Regions from separate parts of the Homo sapiens genome. Here regions 1, 2, 3, 4, 6 and 7 are each linked to region 5. Evidence: promoter capture Hi-C in 16 types of primary human blood cells and fetal thymus (Javierre and others, 2016). All regions are on one chromosome and are shown on one strand. Each heading gives the region's core, a stretch centred on a gene start or on the middle of the fragment in contact. The rest is flanking DNA. Distances are from core to core; before and after follow the strand shown. Region 1 overlaps TPRKB (TP53RK binding protein). Region 2 has its middle 16 kb from the start of TPRKB. Region 3 overlaps STAMBP (STAM binding protein). Region 4 has its middle 5.9 kb from the start of ACTG2. Region 5 holds the start of MTHFD2 (methylenetetrahydrofolate dehydrogenase (NADP+ dependent) 2, methenyltetrahydrofolate cyclohydrolase). Region 6 holds the start of LOXL3 (lysyl oxidase like 3). Region 7 overlaps STAMBP (STAM binding protein).

Region 1 (2,842 bases), core at 5-2,504, 470 kb after region 5:
CATTTTGTGTGCAGTAGAATCCTGCTTATCTGTGAAATGCAGTTAACACATCAGCTGGACCTATTTCCCGAATGCAGGGTAACCCTTCTGTTATTTAAAGATGTAAAAAATGCGGGAGACTTGAGAAGAAAGGCCATGGAAGGCACCATCGATGGATCACTGATAAATCCTACAGTGGTAAATATAAATTTTAAGAATGAATGAGCCTGCTGGGTGCGGTGGCTCACGCCTGTAATGCCAGCACTTTAGGAGGCCGAGGCGGGTGGATCATCTGAGGTCAGGAGTTGAAGACCAGCCTGGCCAACATGGTGAAACCCTGTCTCAACTAAAAATACAAAAATTAGCTGGGCGTGGTGGCGGGCGCCTATAATCCCAGCTACTCGGGAGGCTGAGGCAGGAAAATCATTTGAACCCTGGAGGCAGAGGTTGCAGTGAGCCAAGATTGCGCCATTGCACTCCAGCCTGGGCGACGAGCAAAACTCTGTCTGGAAAAAAAAAATGGCCAGGCATGGTAGCTCACGCCTGTAATCCCAGCCCTTTGGGAGGCCGAGGCAGGCAGATCATGAGGTCAGGAGTTTGAGACCAGCCTGGCCAATATGGTGAAACCCTGTCTCTACTAAAAATACAAAAATTAGCTGAGCATGGTGGTGGGCACCTGTACTCAGGAGACTGAGGCAGGAGAATCGCTTGAGCCTGGGAGGCAGAGGTTGCAGTGAGCCGAGATTGTGCCACTGCACTCCAGCCTGGGCAACAGACCAAGAATCCGCCTCAAAAAAAAAAAAAAAAAAAAAGAATGAATGAGCCATACAGGGCATTTAAGTATACATTAATATTTGTGATGTTATAGGGTAGCCTAAAAATCTGTCACGGTTAGGGAAAAAATTCTTGTCCAAGTCAGATGCAGCCAACTTTGACTATAACAGTGAATAGAGGCAGAAGTGCCAGGTCCTGCCCTAGGAAATAGGAAAGGTTGTGGTCTGGGTCTAATATGGGAAATGCCTGGATCTCCAGCTTCTCATCTTTAAAATGGGGGTTCCTAACAAGACAGTCTGTAGAGGAGGAATAGTGTAGTGGTTAAGAGTACACACAGAGGCCAAGGTGGGTGGATTGCTTGAGGCCCGGAGTTTGAGACCAGCCTGGCCTACATAGTGAAACCGTGTCTCTACTAAAAATACAAAAAGTAGCTGGGTGTGGTGGTGTGTGCTGGTAGTCCCAGCTACTCGGGAGGCTGAGGCACAAGAATCATTTGAACCTGGGAGGCGGAGGTTACAGTGAATTGAGATTGAGCCACTGCATTCCAGCCTGGGCAATGGAGCGAGAGACTCTGTCTGTCTCCAAAAAAAAAAAAAAACAAAAAAACAGGGCACACGCAGTGCGATCATGTTACCGGGAATTAATCCCAGACCTACTACTTAGGCCTTTGAACAAGACATAACCAACCTTTATATAGTGCTTACTGCATTCCTAGCATTGTTCCAAGTGCTTTACGTATACTAACTTGCTTAATCTTCACAACAGCCTATGGAGTGAATACTGTTTCATCGGTCTCTAACAAATAAAATGCTAATGAACTTGCATAAGTTTCCTAGGTGATAGGTGACAGAGATGGGATTCAAACCCAGACATTCTTTGCCTCAATTTCCTCATCAATTACATACTACTACTACTGCTACTACTACTAATAATAGTGTCAATTTCATAGGGTAGTTTTGAGGATTAAAGAAAATATTACAAGTAAAATGTTTGCAATATGATCATGCCCATAATATTAGCCCTCAATTAATGTTATTTAAAAAAATTTTACTATTTGCATAAGTTCCTTGCAGCTTTAAAATTCTGTGATTTCCTGACTACCCAGGCCCTTGGGATAATAGTTGTTTTTTGTTTTTTTTTTTTTTGAGACAGTTTCACTCTTGTTGCCCAGGCTGGAGTGCAATGGCGCGATCTTGGCTCACGGCAACCTCTGCCTCCCGGGTTCAAGCAATTGTCCTGCCTCAGCCTCCTGAGTTGCTGGGATTACAGGTGCGTGCCACCACGCCTGACTAATTTTTGTATTTTTAGTAGAGAGGGTTTCGCCGTGTTGGCCAGGCTGGTCTTGAACCCTGACGTCAGGTGATCTACCCACCTTGGCCTCCCAAAGTGCTAGGATTACAGGTGTGAGCCACCGTGCCCAGCCGGGATAATAGTTTTGAAAATACAGACCGTAAGAATTGTGATGAAGTAAAACAGCTTGACACTGGAGTTAACCATGAGTTACCATGTGTTTTCAGGCACTGCAGATTCTCCATGTGTAATTAATTCTTTTTCCTTGCTTTGGTAGATTGTTGATCCATTTCAGATACTTGTGGCAGCAAACAAAGCAGTTCACCTCTACAAACTGGGAAAAATGAAGACAAGAACTCTATCTACTGAAATTATTTTCAACCTTTCCCCAAATAACAATGTAATGTGCACTTTCCTATTTCTGTTGACCGTGTCATAATAACATATGTGTTCCTCAGTGTTGGGTTGGAGGCTAAATTCCTGCAAGCCAGTGGTTAGTAATAAACCCAAATAATAGTGAAGAGAGCTCTGGACAGAGAGTTGAGGTTTAACCCTGCCTCTTACTAAGACAGTTTACATATGAGTAAACAAAAATTTAGCTAAATTAAGCGAGGTTAATTTTATCTGTTCTTACCATATAGGGTCAGGAAGACCCCTCAAGTATTTTTGCTTGAGAAGCTGACAGAAATCTAAATGATAAAACATTAGGCGTGGATATTTTGTGTGCTAGCCTGCATATCATTCTCTCTTCCCGTAAACTCCTTGAGGGTGGGATCCATGTCTTTTTCATATACCAGGA
Region 2 (3,068 bases), core at 297-2,796, 440 kb after region 5:
AGATTCAAATTCAAAGATCTCTTGTGTCTCCTTGTCTAATGCAAAATAAGGCATCTTTACAGTCCAAATCTGTAAACCAACCTAGTTCTCCTGACAAAGTGATCAGCAAGCTATAGGGGTTAGTTACCATAGGGTGTATGTCCTAGACTGTTTCATTACTGGCCCTAAGTCTTGTACAAACTGTAGTTGTCTTTTTTTTTTTTGAGACGAATCTCGCTCTGTCACCCAGCCTGGAGTGCAGTGGCACGATTTCGGCTCACTGCAAGCTCCGCCTCCCAGGTTCAAGCCATTCTCCTGCCTCAGCCTCCTGAGTAGCTGGGACTACAGGTGCCTGCCACCACGCCTGGCTAACTTTTTTGTATTTTTAGTAGAGATGGGGTTTACCATGTTAGCCAGGATGGTCTTGATCTCCTGACCTCGTGATCCGCCCGCCTCGGCCTCCCAAAGTGCTGGGATTACAGGCGTGAGCCACCACGCCCAGCCGAAACTGTAGTTGTCTTAATGGGACTTGCATGATGGTAAGATGTAGGGACCAGCCCCACAGGGTCAGTGGGTTTTTCTCCCCATGTGTGGAGACGAGAGATTGTAGAAATAAAGACACAAGACAAAGAGATAAAAGACAGCTGGGCCTGGGGGACCACTACCACCAAGATGCAGAGACCAGTAGTAGCCCCGAATGCCTGGCTGCACTGTTATTTATTGGATACAAGGCAAAAGGGGCAGGGTAAAGAGTGTGAGTCATCTCTAGTGATTGATAAGGTCACGTGAGTCACGTGTCCACTGGACAGGGGGCCCTTCCCTGCCTGGCAGCCGAGGCAGAGAGAGGGAGAGCGAGAGAGAGACAGCTTACGCCATTATTTCTGCATATCAGAGACTTTTAGTACTTTCATTAATTTTGCTACTGTTATCTAAAAGGCAGAGCCAGGTGTACAGGATGGAACTTGAAAGCAGACTAGGAGCGTGACCACTGAAGCACAGCATCACAGGGAGACAGGGTCAGGCCTCCGGATAACTGCGGGCGGGCCTGACTGATGTCAGGCCCTCCATAAGAGGTGGAGGAGTAGAATCTCCTCTAAACTCCCCCAGGGAAAGGGAGACTCCCTTTCCCGGTCTGCTAAGTAGCGGGTGTTTTTCCTTGACACTGATGCTACTGCTAGACCACGGTCTGCTTGGCAATGGGCGTCTTCCCAGACGCTGGCATTACCACTAGACCAAGGAGCCCTCTGGTGGCCCTGTCCGGGCATAACAGAAGGCTTGCACTCTTGTCTTCTGATCACTTCTCACTCACTATGTCCCTTCGGTTCCTATCTCTGTATGGCCTGGTTTTTCCTAGGTTATGATTATAGAGCGAGGATTATTACAGTATTGGAATAAAGAGTAATTGCTACAAACTAATGATTAATGATATTCATATATAATCATGTCTATGATTTAGATCTAGTATAACTCTTGTTGTTTTATATATTTTATTATACTGGAACAACTTGTGCCCTCGGTCTCTTGCCTCAGCACCTGGGTGGCTTGCTGCCCACCGTAGAACAGGAATGTTAAAGGGAGAATTACAGGACCAAATCAGTCCTTGTGCCAAAAAAGCCTTCCAAGAGTGGTTGAATACCCTTTCATGCCACTTCCTTTAATGGGTATTCTGTGTCTCTCTTTTAATTTTTATGGGTTTGGCTGTGACCACTCTCCCTGGCTTCCCTTGGGCCCAAACATCTCTCCTTACCTGTGTGAGAATTTCTTCTGGAATGTCCTGAACCTCTTCGTTTTCTGGTTGCAGCAGGAGTATTTGAAACCTGCAAACTTGTTCAGAAGGAATCATTATATCTAGGCATCTGGGGGGAAAGACAAGTTGAGCATACAATTTGGCAAGCAAATCCCAGCCCAGGAGGGGCACTGGGCATTAAGCATGTACAAGAAACTATGCCCTAGGCCGGTCTCTCGTAAATGGTAACCTGAAGATTGTAGAAAGGGATAATGGTGTCTCCCAATATCCGTGTAACAGTAATGGTTTTTCCCAAAGCTGGAGAGAGACAATTGTTAATTAATTAATATGTGGCACTGTGTCAAGTAAAAAGTCAATCATTCTGTTCCCCACTGTCAGTTGTATCTAGGAATCCTGTGGGGATATAGCCACTGGTTGCTCCAAGTCTAAGGGAGTCCCTGGGACACATCAGTCTTCATCTAAATATTATTCTCTCTCCTCATCTGATTTTGAGGGACACTGCACTTGCTAGCTGCTTTGGTCAATTTGGGACAGCCCTTTTTCCAGTGTCCCTCCTTCTTACAATAGGCATATTGGTTTTTTTTCTGAAGGGGGCGTGAGCCGCTCTTTGATTTCTTCCTTTTCCCCTAGGTTGGTAGTCAAGCACAGCTGCCAGTGAGTTACTTGTTGCTTCAATTTGCACTTTCCTGAGCCTCATCCTGAGCATAGTACACTTTAAAAGCTAAGTCCACTAAATGTGAGATTGGCAACCCAAGGATCCCATTTACCTTTTGCAGTTTTCTTTGAATATCAGGGCACTGTGGCTGATAAAGGTCACATTGACCATTCTCTGATTGTCCGGTGCCTCAGGGTTAGTTAGCGTCAACCTACTTTCCACATGTCTGATGGAGTCTTTCTGGGAATTACAAAGGGTCCTCATATGCTTGCCGCTGTACTTCCTGTACCTTATTGAGGCTCTTAACCTGAGTAACCCCTTTCCTCAAACCTTCAAGGATGTGGTTCTCATAGTGTCCTAAGTGGGAAAGGCCCCACCATTTACATCGCACCTGGTCTCTGTGTTAGGGACTGAGTCTATTGGCCAGGGGTGATTGTTTCCTGCCTCCAGATGGAGCCGATTTGCTTCTTCCCTAGCCTTTTCTGTGACTACATGCCTTTCTTCTGCTGTGAGCAGCACTTTAACAAAGTGAGTATCTGCCCTTGTCGGGTGGTAGGTCAGAAATATAGACAAGAATAGCCCAGCCATTTGCTTGGGTTGGGATAGGGGGGATTATTGTTTTTCCAAAGATATTGTTTTCCCACTGAACAGCTCCAAAGTGGGAAAAGGAAATGTAACCACATCATG
Region 3 (3,040 bases), core at 89-2,588, 340 kb after region 5:
CACTTAGACCATCCTATGCAGAGTGCCTCTGCAGTGGCTAGGCTGCAGCAGATATGAAGAGGGATCTACAGACTGATTTCCTGCACCCATCTAGCCACTAAGATATCTTGTGCCTAGAGGAAGAGAAAAGAAAATATAGCAGTTTGGTGATCAGTCTGTGATCAATGTGGTTGCAACGTATGATATGTTGTTGACCTGGCTGAATGTCTTTGGTGGGCAGAGACGGATAAGAGAGCTCACAATTCTTAGGTATCAAAGACCAATGCAGTGGTTGTCAACCCTGGTTGTACTTGAGAATTCTAGCAGCTTGAAAGACAAATGCAGAAACAACATCTGAGGCTCCACCCTAGAGATTCAGCTTTAATTGGTGGGGGGTAGAACACAGGCATCAGTATTTTTTAAATTGCTCCCTAGATATTTGAATATATAGCCAGGGGTAAGAACTTTAAGTGGAAAGTTCTGACTAAAAGCTAAATTTAGATTTTCAGCAATGGGAAGCTATTGCAGGTTTTTGAGCAAGAGAGAAAACATGAACATGGCTGGAATGTGAGAAGCTTCTCCTGATCAAAGTGTGCAGAACAGACTGGAATGAAGAAATGCTAAAAACAAAGAGACTTGGTAAAAGCCAACGGCTACAGTCGAAATAAAAGGTAAGAAAGCCCTAAGCTAAGTGGTAGACAAAGAATGGGAAGAAGGGGATGGATTTCCCAAAAGCAGAGGACTGGGCAATTTCAGGACTGTTTAGAGCAAGGTGGAACAGCCAGGCTGCTCTGGGCTGCAGCAGGAAATGGCTTGTCCAAGCCCAGCTGGCCCCCAGACCCACCCATACCAAAACAGCAAAGAAGGAATTTCCACTATATGGGGAATTAAGAACCCAAGAGAAGAAAAAGAATATAGAGAACTGGGCTCTTTCAGGGGACAAGTTCAAGGACCACTAACCTAAGCAATAAAGACTGAGACAAAATTTAAAAATGAAGAAAACTTTATGCATTCACAGATTCTCCCTCCCCCACCTAGAATTCTGATAAAGAATAAATCACTCTTCTCCTAGCCAAAGTATTTACTCTCCTGCCCTCACTCGAGGTGTCACAAATGACACCATTATTTCTAGGCCACCTAGAACACCAGGCTCAGCTCACAGAAAATTGCAGTAACAATTGCTGCTTCAAGCGTTTTCCTAGGTATTGCCTTAGTCAGAAAAGAACAGCCAACACAATGAAATTGGTAGGGTGGGGTGGCTGGGAAATGTAATCATTTATTGGAGTGTAACCTGGTACTCCAAACAAAGGCTTCATTATCCTCAGCCAAAAGCATGGAGGGCATAAGGAGGAAGTGAATGGTTGACCCATTTGAGACAGCACCAAAAGAACAGAGATGACTTCACAACACCTCTGGAAGATGGCAACAGGCAGATAAAAAACAAGGAGTAATTAAAAGTGAACTGGGACACACCATCAGTGTCAGTATATCTCAAATTCCATTTTTCCTTCACCTTTCCAAAACAACCATACCTTTTTTTTAACCTGTTTATACAATGCTTGATCAAATGGATCACTCTGAAGCACAAAAACATAAGTTAATTGTTACTTTATTGTAGAGGAAAAATATCCTGAAATATTTATTAAATAACAATAATTCCTGACAAAATCATTCTTCGGGATGTGTTAGCCAAACAATCTGGTCAAATGGAGTAAGCTGTCCCTCACCCCAGTAATAAGCTCCATTCATATTGCCATAAACCACAGGAAAATCCAAAAGATTTTCTAAATGGCTTCCAAATTTCTGCACAGATGCCCTTATTGAGCCCAGAGGTAAATATAAACAAATTGAAATTAGAGAGAAATTAGAAGGATAGCTGAGAGGAAAAAAATGTTAACAATTGGTGAATCCAGAAGGAAGGGTATATGGGGGTTCATTATACCATTCTTTCTTAATTTCTGAGCTACTTAATTTCTGAGTAACTTAATTTCTGAGTTACAGTTGCTTTTGGGTGACCATGTTCTCTTTCTGACTTGCCTAAAAAATATGTTCAGTTATTTCTTTTCAAACCTGAAATACAAAATCAGCTCTTTCTCAGGTGATGCCCCCCTTTCTACTATCTACAAAAACTTCCAAAGCTTTCTAGAAAGCTTAAATTAAGGGGCTACAGTACACTGATATGGTTTTGTTGTTCTTGGAAGGTGTTGGACTCAAACGCTCATCGAAGGTCTGTGATGGTCACTGCTCTGTCCACAACAGTCACGTGGCTGCAGCTCTGCAATAGGAAAAAAGAAAGGTGGAGTCCTAGAAAATTCTGAAAAGTCTTTTTTTTTTTTTTCTTCATATAGGGTCTTGCTCTGTTGCCCAGGCTGGAGTGCAGTGGCACGATCTCGGCTCACTGCAACCCCCGCCTCCTGGGTTCAAGCGATTCTTCTGCCTTAGCTTTCCCAGTAGCTGGGATTACAGGCACGAGCCACCATGCCTGGCTAATTTTGTGTTTTTAGTAGAGGTGGGGTTTCGCCATGTTGGTCAGCCTGGACTTGAACTCCTGACCTCAAGTAATCTGCCTGCCTCAGTCTCCCAAAGTATTGGGATTATAGGCGTGAGCCACCGTGCCCGGCCTGAAAAGTCATTTTAAAAAACCACTTTTTGGCTGGGTGCGGTGGCTCACGCTTGTAATCCCAGCACTTTGGGAGGCCAAGGTGGGCAGATCATGAGGTTAGGAGATCAAGACCATCCTGGCCAACATGGTGAAACCCTGACCCTACTAAAAAAAAAAAAAAAAAAAAAATTTAACCCGGTGTGGCGGCGCGCACCTGTAGTCCCAGCTACTCGAGAGGCTGAGGCAGCAGAATTGTTTGAACCTGGGGGGCAGAGGCTGCAGTGAGCTGAGATCATACCACTGCACTCCAGCCCGGCAACAGAGCGAGACTCTGTTTCAAACAAAAACAAAAACAAAAACAAAAACAAAAAAACCCTTATTTAAAATGTTCATTCTAGGCTAGTGGTTCTCAGTCTGGAAGCCAGACTGCTATTTAAGTGGTAGTTGTGGTAAGAGTCT
Region 4 (3,190 bases), core at 32-2,531, 310 kb after region 5:
TCTGCCCACCTCAGCACCCCAAAGTGCTAGAATTACAGGCATGAGCCACTGTGCCCGACCTAACTTTTTTTTTTTTTTAACTTGTCTTTCTCTGAAAATGGCTGCTTCCTGTTTACTTTTTTTTTCTATTGGATTGTTCACCTTTATCTTCTTGAGTTATGAGAGATCTTGGTATATTATATTAGTGATATAATTAGCCTTTTGCCTACTACAAGTGTTGCAAATATTTTCCCCCCAGTTTAAACATTTGCCTTTCGATTTTGTCTGGTAGCATTTGCCTTACTAAAGTTTAATCAAATGTCTTTCCTGTTTAGTGTCTGTTTTATAACATCCTTAGGAAGGCTGAGCACTTCTTTTTATACATTTTAACTTTTAAAAATTGTAATTGTGGAAAACACATATAATATAAAATTTACAATATTAACCATTTAAAAATGTATGGTTCTATATGGTTTTTGTTTTGTTTTGTTTTGTTTTGTTTTTTTGAGACGGTGTGTCACTCCTGCTGCCCAGGCTGGAATGCAATGATGCAATCTCGGCTCACTGCAACCTCCGCCTCCCGGGTTCAAGCGATTCTCCTGCTTCAGCCTCCTGAGTAGCTGGGATTACAGGCACCCACCACCATGCCCAGCTAACTTTTGTATTTTCAGTAGATACGGGGTTTCACCATGTTGGCCAGGCTGGTCTCAAACTCCTGACCTCAGGTGATCCATCTGCCTCAGCCTCCCAAAGTGCTGGGATTAGAGGTGTGAGCCACCGTGCCCTGCGGTTCTGTACTATTAAGTATATTCACATTGTTATACAACCAGTCTCCAGAACGTTTTTATCTTGCAAAACTGAAACAGTATCCATTAAACAACTCCTCACTTTGCCCTCCCCCAGCCCCTGGCAACAGCTCTTCTACTTGCTGTCTCTGAATCTGACAACTCTGAATACCTTGTAAGAGTGGAGTCATACAGTGTTTGCCCTCAAGGTTCATCCATGCTGTAGTATGAGTCAAAATTTCCTTGCTTTGTATTTATGTAATTTTATTTTTCGGAGACAGGGTCTTACTTTGTCACCCAGGCTGGTGTGCAGTGGCGTGATCATAGCTCACTGCAGCCTCAAATTCCTGGGCTTGAGCAATGCTCCTGCCTCAACCTCCCAAACAGCTAGGACTATAGGCATGCTCCACCACACCCAGCTAATTTTTAAAAAATTGTAATTTTTGTGGAGGAGGCGGGAGGCGGGTCTCAATATGTTGCCTAGGCTGGTCTTGAACTCCTGGCTTCAAGCGATCCTCCCGCCTGCGTCTCCCAAAGTTCAGGGATTACAGGAATGACCCAATGTGTGGCCTCCTTGCTTTTTAAAGCTGAATAATACTTCATTGTATCTCTATAACACATTCTGTTTATCCATTCATTTATTGAGTGACACTTGAAGTCCTTTCACTTCTTGGCTATTGTGAATAATGCCACTATGAACATGGATGTACAAATAGCTCTTTGAGACCCTGCTTTTACTTCTTTTGGGTATACACCCAGATACAGAATTGCTGGACCATCTGGTAATTTTCTTTTTACTTTTTTGATGAAGTGCCAAATGGTTTTCCATAGGGACCACATCATTTTCCATTTCCACCAACAGTGGTGCACAATGATTCCAATTTCTCCACATCCTTGCCAACACTTTGTTATTTTCGGGGTTGTATTTTATTTTCTAAAGTAGCCATCCTAATGGGTGGCTACTTTTTAAAAATTGTATATGAGCGTCGTGTTTTAATTAAACAGACTTTTTTTTTTTTTTTGAGATAGAGTCTTTCTCTGTCACCAGGCTGGAGTGCAATGGCGTGATCTCAGCCCACTGCAACCTCCATCTCCCGGGTTCAAGTGATTCTCCTGCCTCAGCCTCCTCAGTAGCTGGGACTACAGGCATGCACCACCACACCCAGCTAATCTTTGTATTTTTAGTAGAGATGGGGTTTCACCATGTTGGCCAGGATGATCTTGATCTCTTGACCTCATGATCCACCTGCTTTGGCCTCCCAAAACGCTGGGATTACAGGGGTGAGCCACCGTGCCCAGCCTAGACTATTTTTTTAGAGTAGTTTTAGGTTCACAGAAACATTGAACAGAAAGTATAGAGAGTTTCCATTACGCCCAACACCCACACACTCTCAGGTTTCTCCACTATCAAAGTCATATACCAATGTGGTTCATTTGTTATAACCAATGAACCTACATTGACACATCATTATCACCCAAAGTTCATAGTTTGCATTAGGGTTTGCTCTTGGTGCTGTACATTCAATGGGTTTTGACAAATGTATAATGCCATGTATCCACCCTTATACTGTAGTGTCATACGGACTAATTTCACTGACCATCTATTCATCCTTTCCCCTCCACAACCCCTGGCAACCATTGATCTTTTTGCTGTCTCCATAGTTTTGCCTTTTCTTGAATGCCATATAATTGAAATCGTACAGTATGTGGCCTTTTTAAGGTTGACTTCTTTTACTTAGCAATAGAGATTTAAGTTTTCTCCATGTCTTTTTTACGGTTTGATATCTTATTTCTTTTTAGTGCTGAGTGATATTTCATTGTTTGGATGTACTACAGTTTACATATCCACTCACCTACTGAAGGGCATCTTAGTTGCCTCCAAGTTTTGGCAGTTATGCATAAAGCTGCTCTAAACATCCTTTTGGGCTGGGCGCAGTGGCTCACACCTGTAATCCCAGCACTTTGGGAGGCTGAGGCAGGCAGATCACCTGAGATCAGGAGTTCGAGACCACCCTGGCCAACATGGCGAAACCGCATCTCTACTAAAAATACAAAATTAGCTGGGCACGGTGGCACATGCCTGTAGTCCTAGCTACTTGGGAGGCTGAGGCAGAAGAATTACTTGAACCTGGGAGGCAGAGGTTGCCATGAGCCCAGATCGCACCACTGCACTCCAGCCTGGGCAACAAAGACAGACTCTGTCTCAAAAAAAAATCCTTTTGCAAGTTTCTGTGTGAGCATAAGTTCTCAGCTCATTTGGGTAAATACCAAGGAGTGCAATTGCAAGACCTTCTGGTAAGAATATAGTTAGTTTTGTAAGAAACTTCCAAATTGTCTTGCAAAGTAGCTGTACCATTTGGCATTCCCACTGGCAATGAATGAGAGTTCCTGTTGCCCCACATCCTCATGGTTTTGATTTGCATTTG
Region 5 (3,138 bases), core at 70-2,569:
CGTTAGATGAAAAAAAGAAGGGGCTGATGTTGTAAGGTGCAGGGCTCTAACAATGCCAACAATGCCAGCGCTCTAATGACCGACCAAATCACCTTCCCAAGGAAACCCAAAAATGCAAACAGAGCTTTTCCTTTCCTCCTCCCCTGTATATTTTTCCCAATTTTGTTATTGTGGTAAAATTCACATAACATAAACCTTATCAACTTTTTTTTTTTTTTTTTTTTTTGAGACAGGGTCTCGCTCTGTCGCCCAGACTGGAGGGCAGTGGTGCAATCACGGCTCACTGCAGCCTCGAACTCCTGGGCTCAAGCGATTCTCGTGCCTCAGCCTCGGCGCGTGTCACCACGCCCGGCCCATCTTAACCATTTTTAAGTGCAGTTCAGTGGTATTAAATACGTTCATATGTTGTGCAACCATCACCACCATCCATCTTCAGAACTCTTCATCTTGTAAAACTGAAATTCTGCAAGTACCGCTGAAATATGGGTACTTGTCACTCTCCATTCCCCCTTTCCCTAAGGCCCTGGGAGCCTCCCGGATGTTTGCCACCTCTATGTACGCAGCCCGGCACTGACAGGCTCTGGTGGGCTGCAGCCAAAGCTAGGGTGCCCAGAGTCCGTTCATGTTCCTGGCAGAGCGGAGGCAGCGCGGGCCACTCCCACCGGCGGAGGGAGGAGGGCGGCGCGGGGACCCCGAGCAAGTCGGCTCCGCGATTTCATCAGCTGCAGCAGCGCCCTCCGCCGCTAGGGTCCCCGCAAGGACAACTCGCCGAGGGCTGCTCTTTTGGAACCCTCGCCTGTTCTCCCCCAGACGACTCTCAGCATCCCAGCCAGAGGCGGCCGGCGCTGTCGGAAGGCTCCGCGTAAACTGATGCCTTCGCGTTCCGCACGCCACCCCCGTCCCGCCCGCCGACTGGCCACGGGCCCCGGCGACGCCCCGAGTCGCAGGAGAGCGGCTCCCTCCGAAAGGCGGGCTTCGGGTACCAGCCCTCCGCGCCGAGGAAGCGCCCCAGTCGAGAGCTGCGGCGGCGCTCGGTGCCACGTCGCCCCGCCACACCCCTCAGCGGCCACCACCGCCGGGGCGGAGATGTTCGGGAAGGACTTCCCTCGGTGTCCCTCGGGGGCCCGGCGTGCCCCTCGCCCTCCGTTCCCCTCAGCTTTCCGCGCTGACCGAGCTCTGTGACCCTCTTACCGAACTGCCGCGAGGTGGAAAGGGCGAAGGCGAAGGGAGCAGCTGTGCGCGGGCTGCAGCAGCCGGGCAGCCAAAGCAGACATTAGAGAAGTCGCAGCCATAGACCGCGCCGGTGACTGCGCCGGGAGGGAAGCGCGCGCGCGGGCCACGCGGTTATACTGCGGCCTCGTGGCAGGCCCCGCCTCCCTCCGCCACCCATTGGTCCCTGCCGCATGCCACTGGCTGTCTGTTGAGCCAGGTGGAGCCGAAGGGGCCAACCGGTTTTCTTTATTAAACGTAAGCGAAGTCCGAAAGAGCCCTGCTTTTGATTGGAGCCAGAAGAGCCTGGAGCGAGGTCCTGTAAGGCGCTGAAGCCTCGGCAACGTGCCATGATAGGCTGAGGAAGTCAAACTCCTGCCTGACGCCGCTAGTGTCACCGAAGGCCGGACAACACAAGAGAAAAGTTCATTCATTCATTCGTTGAACAATTATATGAGCGCCTACTGTGTGCCAAGCACTGTAAAGGGTGGATGAAAAGACAAGCTGATAGAATGCCAACGAACAGAAGTAAAAGGAATGATGGAGTTAGAAAATCACCATTTTCCAAAATCAGTACATGGTGGCGCGTGACTACAGTACCAGCTACTGGGGAGGCTGAGGTGGAAGGATCACCTGAGTTCAGGAGGTTGAGGCTGCAGTGAGCTGAAGGCGCGCCACTGCACTCCAGCCTGGGCGACGAGAGTGAGACCATATCTCAAAACAACAACAAAAAAAGTAAAATCATAAAAGATATTCAGAGACAGACGTCAGGGTTGCATGTGCAACCCTGATTCAGAAGCAGCAATAGATGTCAAAACAACTGGGTGAAAGTTGGATGAGGAGCAAGATATTTACATATAGGGTTGCCAGATCTAGCAAATAAAAACACAAGATGCCCAATCAAATCAGAATTTTAGATAAACACTTTGGGAGGTCATATTTATACTTTATTTATGGCTTATCTGGAATTCAGATTCAACTGGGCTTCCTGTATTTTTTCCCGCAAACTTTTTGCATAGTCTCAAAGTATCTCTCCCGCAAGGAAACTTAAGGAGGGCAGGGCGCGGTGGCTCACTTCTGTAATCCCCAGCTCTTTGGGAGGCCAAGGCGGACGGATCACCTGAGGCCAGGAGTTCGAGACCAGCCTGGCCAATGTGTTGAAACCCCCGTCTCTACTAAAAACACAAAAAATTATCTGAGCATCGTGGCGGACGCTGTAATCCCAGCTACTGGGGAGACTGAGGCATGAGAATCGCTTGAATCTGGGAGGCAGAGGTTGCAGGGAGCCGAGACTGTGCCACTGCACTTCAGCCTGGGCAACAAAAAGACTCTGTCTCAAAAAACAAAACAAACAAACAAAGAACAGGGGAAACCAATCCTGTCAACACCTTGACCTTTACTTCTAGCCTCCAGGAAGGAAAGGAAAATGGTAAATTTACAGTGAAGAAACATGACAGTTACTGCTTCAACCACGTGATCAAAGTTAGCACCACCCAGTAAGGGAACACACATATATGCCTTCTGATAGGATCCATTGAGGAGACACATCACTTCGTAGCTCTTAACAAGTCTGTAAATTTAATAAGGTGATTTTCCTAAACCAATGAGTCTCCTAAAAACGGTTACAGATTCCTCATTTCACATTGAGAAGAAAGATCACAGACCTAGAATGTTAAAACTGTCCAGGAAAAAAAACAGTTGTAAAGCTTTGGAACACACTAGTAGATCTTAATCTATTCACAAGGAAATATCAGACAAGCCCAAAGTGAGAGATATTCTACAAGATAAATTGCTTGTACTCTTGACAGCTCCAAGGCCATGAAAGACAAAGAATGAGAAACTGTTCTCCATTAAAGGAGCCTAGGCATGACAGCTAAATGCTGTTTGATTCTGGATTGGATTCTGGACCCAAAACTTTTTGTCTTTCTT
Region 6 (2,932 bases), core at 177-2,676, 360 kb before region 5:
AACATGACCTAAGGAGGGTAGAGGGGGAAACACATTACCAGGAGCCATCAGAGGAAGTGAGTCACACGCCTGCACTAGTTAGGGTATCTACAAAGAAGAGACCACCTGCGAACAGACGCGGGGTCACCGGGTAGGCAAGAAAGGGGGATCCAAAGGTCAGAGCTTCCCACTTTCTGTCCTGCCCCACCCCTCCCACAGCTGCCCAACCCAGGAAGCCCTCCCGGACAGCCCCTGCACCTTGTCCCGGCCATAGCGACGCAACAGAGTGTAGGGCCAGGACAGGAGTGGCTCCAGTATCTGACTCTGGGCCCCCACGGTCAGGAGAGTCAGCCTTTCAGCCTCCACCCTCAGCACGTAGGAGCCATGCAGGCCACAGCGCTCGGCGGCCTCAGTCCTCTGCACCGTTACCCAGAATTGGGATCCTGGAAGGCATACACGATTAGACAGCTGCGGGGGAGGGACGGGGGCAGCAGTGGGGACCCAGAGGACTCATGAGCATAGTGTCCAAGCACTCACTCGGAAGCCAGATCTCAGGGCCTTCCTACTTCTTACTTCCCCATGGGCCCCTGGGTATCCACCCACTTCCCAAAGGCCCTCGGCCCTCCTCCTCTTCACTCCATCCCTGCCCGGGCTTCTGAGGCGTCTACCTTCCCAGGTAGGGCTGTACAAGGAGTTCTCCAGCATCTCCAGGGCAGAAAGCTTAGGTGGGTTATCGGTAGGCGCCAGAGTCCAGCTGCCTTTCTGTAGTAGAGAGCATCGAGAAACCCGTAATTTCCTCAGCGGGGAGCGGGGGTCGGTCTGAGGCAGCCCCATTTCTCTGCCTCTGTAACTGCCCCCACCCCGCATCGCCGCAGCTCCTCACCGGAAAGGCGTTTCGGCACAGCGTCTGCACCCAGGCTGCACTGGACGGCGCGTCGGCCGCCAGCAGGTGCGAGCGCTGAGCAGTGTCCAGGCGGAAGGCAGTGGCGCCGGGCTCAGGGGGGGTCTCCACGGTGACGGGGGCCACACTCACACACTCAGCCAGACGGATCACTTTGCAGTCCAGGCGGCGCGAGCTCCCTCGGCCACCCCCAGAGCTCGACCCCTTATGGTCAAAGAACTCGAGCCGCGCTACGCCGTGGGGACTGGCCGGGTAGAGCACGGCCCAGGTCTTCCTCCACCTCTAGGGAGAGAGAGAGAGTGCTCGAGAGGGAGTGGCGTGCGCAGGCGGCCCGGGTCCCGACGGGGAAGGAGGTTGCGGCGCAAGTCGATTTGGGATCTGGGGCTTCCAAACGGGGTTGGGGGCGAAGTTTCCCAAGGACGATGCCACTCCGTCTCCCCAGGACCAGAACCCCTAGACTACAGACGCTTCCCGGGAGTGTGCAAAGCAACTTCACGGGAAAGTCACAGGCTCTCCAACTCCCGGCGCCGCTCTCCAGCCCGCTGCCCACCTCTCCCTGTTTCTGGGCTCTCTCACCCACTACTAGCCCGGATAAGGTTCGGCATCCATGCGCCAGACTACCTTGGTCCCAAAGCGCTGACTCTGCAAAAAAAGCGGCCCTTCCATCACTGCTCCGTCCATGGCCCCCGGCGGTTCCTTCCGCGCTTCCTGGCCCTGCGGCGGGAGGCGGGGCGGGAGGCGGGGCCGGGTTCCCTGGAGGAGTTTCCGCCCCTCCCCGGCCCCCGCCGGCAGCCGCTGGGGGGGTCGCGGTGGGGTGAGGGAGAGGAGCGAGAAGGAATGGTGGAGACCCCCGGATTAGCCGGGAGCTGCAGCACCCCAGGCCCCTACCCGCCGTCGTGGGGGCGCGCCAGTGGCTCCACCGAAAGTCCTCGGTTTTGGCGCGAGGGCCCTGGCCTCTGGGCGTGGTGGCTGCGCGTGACGTCATATGCCCAAGGTGACGTCAGAGTGAAAGCCATGACATCACCCCGAAAGCGCCCCGGGCACCGGAGAGACCCACACGGGCCTCCGGGGCTTTATTTACCCTGGCCGGGCCCGCCCCCAGCCCCGCCCGAGCCGGGCTGTTTAGACTCCGCTGGCCCGGGACTCGGAGGGAGGGCTGGGGTTGAACCGCTTCCCGCCACCACCGGGGCCGCCCCGCCGCCCGGCCGCCGCTTGCATGTCAGCTCCCTGACCGCAGAGGCCTGGCCTCCATGCCGCGGGAAGAGAAAGCTTCATTGAACGAGCCGGGAGGGCCAGGGAGGGGGAGGGGGCGCGGCAGTGGCCAGCTCCACGGGGAGGGAGGACCCAGAGGAGGAGAGGAGGGAACTGGCCGGGAGGAATGGAAGGAGAAGGCGGAATGTGGGAGGGCTCAGGGGGATGTGGGAGGGACGAACGGAGAAGGGGGAGAGAGGGGGGTCCAGTCTCCCCTGGCCGAGCATTTTTTTTTTTTTTTGGAAGTCCTAGGACTGATCTCCAGGACCAGCACTCTTCTCCCAGCCCTTAGGGTCCTGCTCGGCCAAGGTAGGGGGAGTCACGCTAACCGCAGAGGGAATGAGTAGGGGATGGAGAGGATGTGGAGGGACCAGGGAAAACGGGTGGTGTGGGATGGAGTCGAGGGGAAGCCACCCAACTGAGAGTTTGATTCTTGTCAAAGGGCAAGTGAGACAGAGTACACGGAGGAGGCACATACCGGAGGCGGGGGCTACGGGTGTTCGAACAGGGCCGCCAGGAGCGCCCTAAGGGAGGGGGCTCCTCCGGGAGGCGCTGCCCCTGGGTCCCCAACCCAGAACAAAGCTGCCTTGTTGGATTGATTGTTTGGGTTGGGGGAAGCATGTTGACGGGGGCTTGCTGTAGAGGGGCTGTTCTCAGCCCTAGGCAGAGAAGGCCTTGGCTGAGGAGCCATAGCGCCTGGCCTCCCGTTGCCCGGTGACAGGGATGGTGGTGTTGGCAGGAGGCTGGGACAACCCTACCCCATCCCCCGCCCAGCCTTGAGGCCTGGCCCTCCTGGGCCTC
Region 7 (3,140 bases), core at 568-3,067, 350 kb after region 5:
CAGAATAGAGACCAGCAGACAGCTACACAACAGCCTGTGAGTGGCTGCAGTATGTATTCACAGCTGGCCACTGACAGCGCCCTGGCAGTTTCTCCACATGTTTTAACTGACTTCCTAAAAAGAATCATTTGAAAATAGCTTGAAATGGCTGGGTGCAGCGGCTCACGCCTGTAATCCCAGCACTTTGGAAGGCCGAGGCAGGCGGATCACTTGAGGTCAGGAGTTTGAGACCATCTTGGCCAACATGGTGAAACCCCATCTCTACTAAAAATACAAAAATTAGCCGGGTATGGTGGCGGATGCCTGTAGTCCCAGTCACTCGGGAGGCTGAGGTAGGAGAATCACTTGAGTCGGGGAGGCAGAGGTTGCAGTGAGCTGAGATCGTGCCACTGCACTCCAGCCTAGGCGACAGAGTGAGACTGTCTCAAAAAAAAAAAAAAAAAATAGCTTGAAAAGTCAATTCTTATAAATAGCTTCAGGTATAACCAAATGTGAATCCAACCCTCAAATTCTCTGATCTAAAAACCTATGTTTTGGAGAGAATGTTCATTGTTCTTATGATTCTCACTCTAGACATAGCAGGTAGGCGACAGATTTTCTGTCCCTCAAGTCACTCTCTTCGACAAATAGGCTATATCTGTGTTACAACCCTGAGCCTAACCACTGGTGTTCTACTTTTTTGAGTTTCTGGTCTTTGCCCAAAAAAGGTGAAACAGCACATTAAAAGCACAGGATATATTGAAATGTCATATTACAATCCCAGGGCACAGCCTAAAAAAGCAAAATAATTTTCTTCTTAGCTGTTATATACTGACCTTTTCTTCATTATATTCTGTATATTCTTTGGTATATCGTTTTAACAGCTCTGCCTTCAGCTCTTCTGCTTTGGGAAATGCAATCTCCTTTAATTTCTGAGACACAAAACAGAAAATAGAATTAGAACAATGCCAGAAAATTACAGAATCCAAAAGAAGACTTAAGTCAAGTTGGTGACTGCAACATTTCCCAAAATGATTTAAAATACCCCCTACTGTACCATACCTGCTACTTCAGAACTGTTGTGGTGAAATGGCCTTATCTCCTATTGCAGGATCTGGTACTCAGATGCAGAGACTACTACTTTTATCTTGAAGTCAGTCTGTGCTGCTCTGAAGCTTTTAGATGGGCAACAATGAAAGTGAAGACCCACCTTTACTGTGTCTTTCTTTTCAGGAATGACAGCAGATTTGTAATCTCGATGTTTTGGTAGTTTCTCAATAAAGAGCCTAAGGAAACAGTTCAAAATGATTATGAAGCAAATGGTCCAAATGTCCATAAGACCCTAAAGCTATGCAACCCCCTTATCCTGAAGCCCTTATATGAAAGGTTCCAGAAGTGCAGCGGAGGGAGAGCTAATACACCCAGCTGGGCCATGCTCCTTTCCCATCTCTATCCCCCTAAAGAGCCAGAGTCTTTTCCTCTACTCCCAAACTAGGCAGCAAGCACCAGACTCCTACAATGAAAAAGATGGCCAAAAAAATTTTAAAAAGCCTTTCTTGTGCCCAAAAATGTACCTCCAAAGAAAGAGATCTTTTTCTTGTTGTGACGTGACAGGTTTTCAAAGGAAAGGGCTTCTGTCACATAGCAGTCTTCAGAGAACCGTTTGGCAGCCATGGGCAGGAAGCAAGAGAAAACCATGTTTCCTTACTCCTTCTAGCTCTTATGTAACCTTTAACTTTGGCTTTTTTCCTTTGGGATTCGTGTTCCTTCAAAGAAGAATACTACTTTGCATCATACAAAAATGCATGGAAATACTTAGTGCATGTGTTCTATGCATGTAGTATGTGCATATTACATGTTAGCATGCACTGTCTTTGATGAAAAGTGCTTAGGTAAATATAAGATGCTAGATTTCATCTTTTGGTTCTTGTCCATGGCTCTAAAGCTCAGTGGGGAGAATAAACTTAATTAATTCACAAATCTCTAACATTTAAGACATCTACTTAGGGGCAGTGAAAATAAATAAAAGTCCAGTAACCTGTCACAGAAAGAAAGTGGCAGATTCAGAATTTCAGTATGAGCAGGCTGGCTCCAGAGCCTATTCTTTTAACCACTACACCATACTTCTTCCATACGGATTCTGGAATGTCTAGAACTACTGGAGGGATTCTGAACAAAGATGTCTTTTAACAGAATTAAGTTGTAATACACAGAAACTGAGATAAAAAAATAAATTGAAGGTAGCTTGCTGATAGCTCTAAAATATTATATTGTAATTGGGATAAACTCTTTTCTACTTACTGCCCATGGGGCAGAAGTAATTGGAAGAAGAATCCTCAATAAAGAAAAAAGATGATCCCCACCAAAACAAACTTTCTAAAGATAAGTCCTCATCCTTCAGTTCTATATTAGGCACACAAGTTTCATTTTGATCCAACTTGATAAGGCTCCTCAAGGCAGGGATGGACTCTAAAATAAAAATGGTTCTTTAAAAAGCTTCCTTTTGGGTTCATGAAGAAGATATAAAAGAGGCTGGGTGCGGTGGCTCATGCCTGTAATCCCAGCACTTTGGGAGACCGAGGCAGGAAGACTGCTTGAGCCCAGGAGTTCAAGACCAGCCTGGGTAACAGGGTGAGACCTTGTCTCTATTTATATTTTTTAATTTATATATATATATACATATATATATATACATACACAAACATATATAACAAAACATAAAAAAACACAAAAATTAGCTGGGTGTGGTGGTATGCATCTGTAGTCCCAGCTGCTTGGGAGGCTGAGGCAGGAGGATCTCTCGATCCCAGAAGTCTGAGGTTACAGTGAGCTTTGATCACACCACTGCACTCCAGCCTGGGTGACAGAGGGAGATCCTATCTCTATTTGGAAAAAAAAAAAAAAAAAGAAAGATATAAAACAGTTTCCTTGAAGTCTATATTTAAAAGAAATACAGATTCATTTGTTCAAACCATAAAGTCCTGAAGAATCTATTAAGATAAATAAGACATATTTCTTATATTTTAGAGACTGATAGATGATTCAGTAGAACTCTCATCTTAGCCCCAAAAGCCAAGATACATATTAATATTTACTACCTTTAGCAGGCTGAATGTGCTTTGTATTGAGGCCTGAATCAGCTAAGAAAGTACTATGTCATA

What was found. Contacts are between HindIII fragments. The CHiCAGO score rates a contact against its expected background, and 5 or more counts as called.
Region 1: a contact is called between a fragment that was not itself captured here and the fragment with the promoter of MTHFD2 in region 5, in 7 of 17 cell types (non-activated CD4 T cells, fetal thymus, erythroblasts and 4 more). The highest score is 8.1, in non-activated CD4 T cells.
Region 2: a contact is called between a fragment that was not itself captured here and the fragment with the promoter of MTHFD2 in region 5, in 1 of 17 cell types (total B cells). The highest score is 5.2, in total B cells.
Region 3: a contact is called between a fragment that was not itself captured here and the fragment with the promoter of MTHFD2 in region 5, in 14 of 17 cell types (activated CD4 T cells, naive CD4 T cells, naive B cells and 11 more). The highest score is 9.6, in activated CD4 T cells.
Region 4: a contact is called between a fragment that was not itself captured here and the fragment with the promoter of MTHFD2 in region 5, in 6 of 17 cell types (activated CD4 T cells, naive B cells, naive CD4 T cells and 3 more). The highest score is 10.3, in activated CD4 T cells.
Region 6: a fragment that was not itself captured here is called in contact with the fragment with the promoter of MTHFD2 in region 5 in 4 of 17 cell types (naive CD4 T cells, activated CD4 T cells, fetal thymus and 1 more); the score reaches 8.4 in naive CD4 T cells.
Region 7: a contact is called between a fragment that was not itself captured here and the fragment with the promoter of MTHFD2 in region 5, in 14 of 17 cell types (activated CD4 T cells, erythroblasts, total CD8 T cells and 11 more). The highest score is 14.3, in activated CD4 T cells.

Annotation. Positions count from the first base shown.
Region 1 is chr2:73,731,764-73,734,605 of GRCh38, reverse strand. TPRKB (TP53RK binding protein) reads left to right here. Exons shown (of 5, transcript NM_016058.5): 2 at 15-177; 3 at 2,321-2,443. The coding sequence starts at 37. Among named protein-coding and RNA genes, the nearest start is that of TPRKB, 4.2 kb to the left of the region's middle. The HindIII fragment of the contact is 4,504 bases long and covers 1-2,842 here.
Region 2 is chr2:73,752,215-73,755,282 of GRCh38, reverse strand. No RefSeq gene overlaps it. Among named protein-coding and RNA genes, the nearest start is that of TPRKB, 16 kb to the right of the region's middle. RefSeq lists a silencer at 1,102-1,285. The HindIII fragment of the contact is 4,937 bases long and covers 1-3,068 here.
Region 3 is chr2:73,861,417-73,864,456 of GRCh38, reverse strand. It overlaps STAMBP (STAM binding protein), which reads right to left. Exons shown (of 10, transcript NM_213622.4): 10 at 1-2,254. The coding sequence ends at 2,198. Among named protein-coding and RNA genes, the nearest start is that of ACTG2, 30 kb to the left of the region's middle. The HindIII fragment of the contact is 1,563 bases long and covers 557-2,119 here.
Region 4 is chr2:73,885,515-73,888,704 of GRCh38, reverse strand. No RefSeq gene overlaps it. Among named protein-coding and RNA genes, the nearest start is that of ACTG2, 5.9 kb to the left of the region's middle. The HindIII fragment of the contact is 6,858 bases long and covers 1-3,190 here.
Region 5 is chr2:74,196,796-74,199,933 of GRCh38, reverse strand. It overlaps MTHFD2 (methylenetetrahydrofolate dehydrogenase (NADP+ dependent) 2, methenyltetrahydrofolate cyclohydrolase), which reads right to left and starts at 1,319. Exons shown (of 8, transcript NM_006636.4): 1 at 1,192-1,319. The coding sequence starts at 1,292. RefSeq lists silencers at 561-650, 781-1,060, 1,251-1,390 and an enhancer at 1,099-1,657. The HindIII fragment of the contact is 3,357 bases long and covers 1-2,917 here.
Region 6 is chr2:74,553,384-74,556,315 of GRCh38, reverse strand. It overlaps LOXL3 (lysyl oxidase like 3), which reads left to right and starts at 2,374. Exons shown (of 14, transcript NM_032603.5): 1 at 2,374-2,440. DOK1 (docking protein 1) reads right to left here and starts at 1,596. Exons shown (of 5, transcript NM_001381.5): 1 at 1,502-1,596; 2 at 863-1,162; 3 at 648-741; 4 at 238-422; 5 at 1-8. The coding sequence starts at 1,561. RefSeq lists enhancers at 1,295-1,354, 979-1,496 and a silencer at 1,505-2,254. The HindIII fragment of the contact is 1,450 bases long and covers 702-2,151 here.
Region 7 is chr2:73,842,938-73,846,077 of GRCh38, reverse strand. It overlaps STAMBP (STAM binding protein), which reads right to left. Exons shown (of 10, transcript NM_213622.4): 3 at 1,190-1,265; 4 at 816-911. The region is part of intron 1 of LOC112268419 (a long non-coding RNA gene); the gene reads left to right. Among named protein-coding and RNA genes, the nearest start is that of STAMBP, 16 kb to the right of the region's middle. The HindIII fragment of the contact is 1,321 bases long and covers 1,157-2,477 here.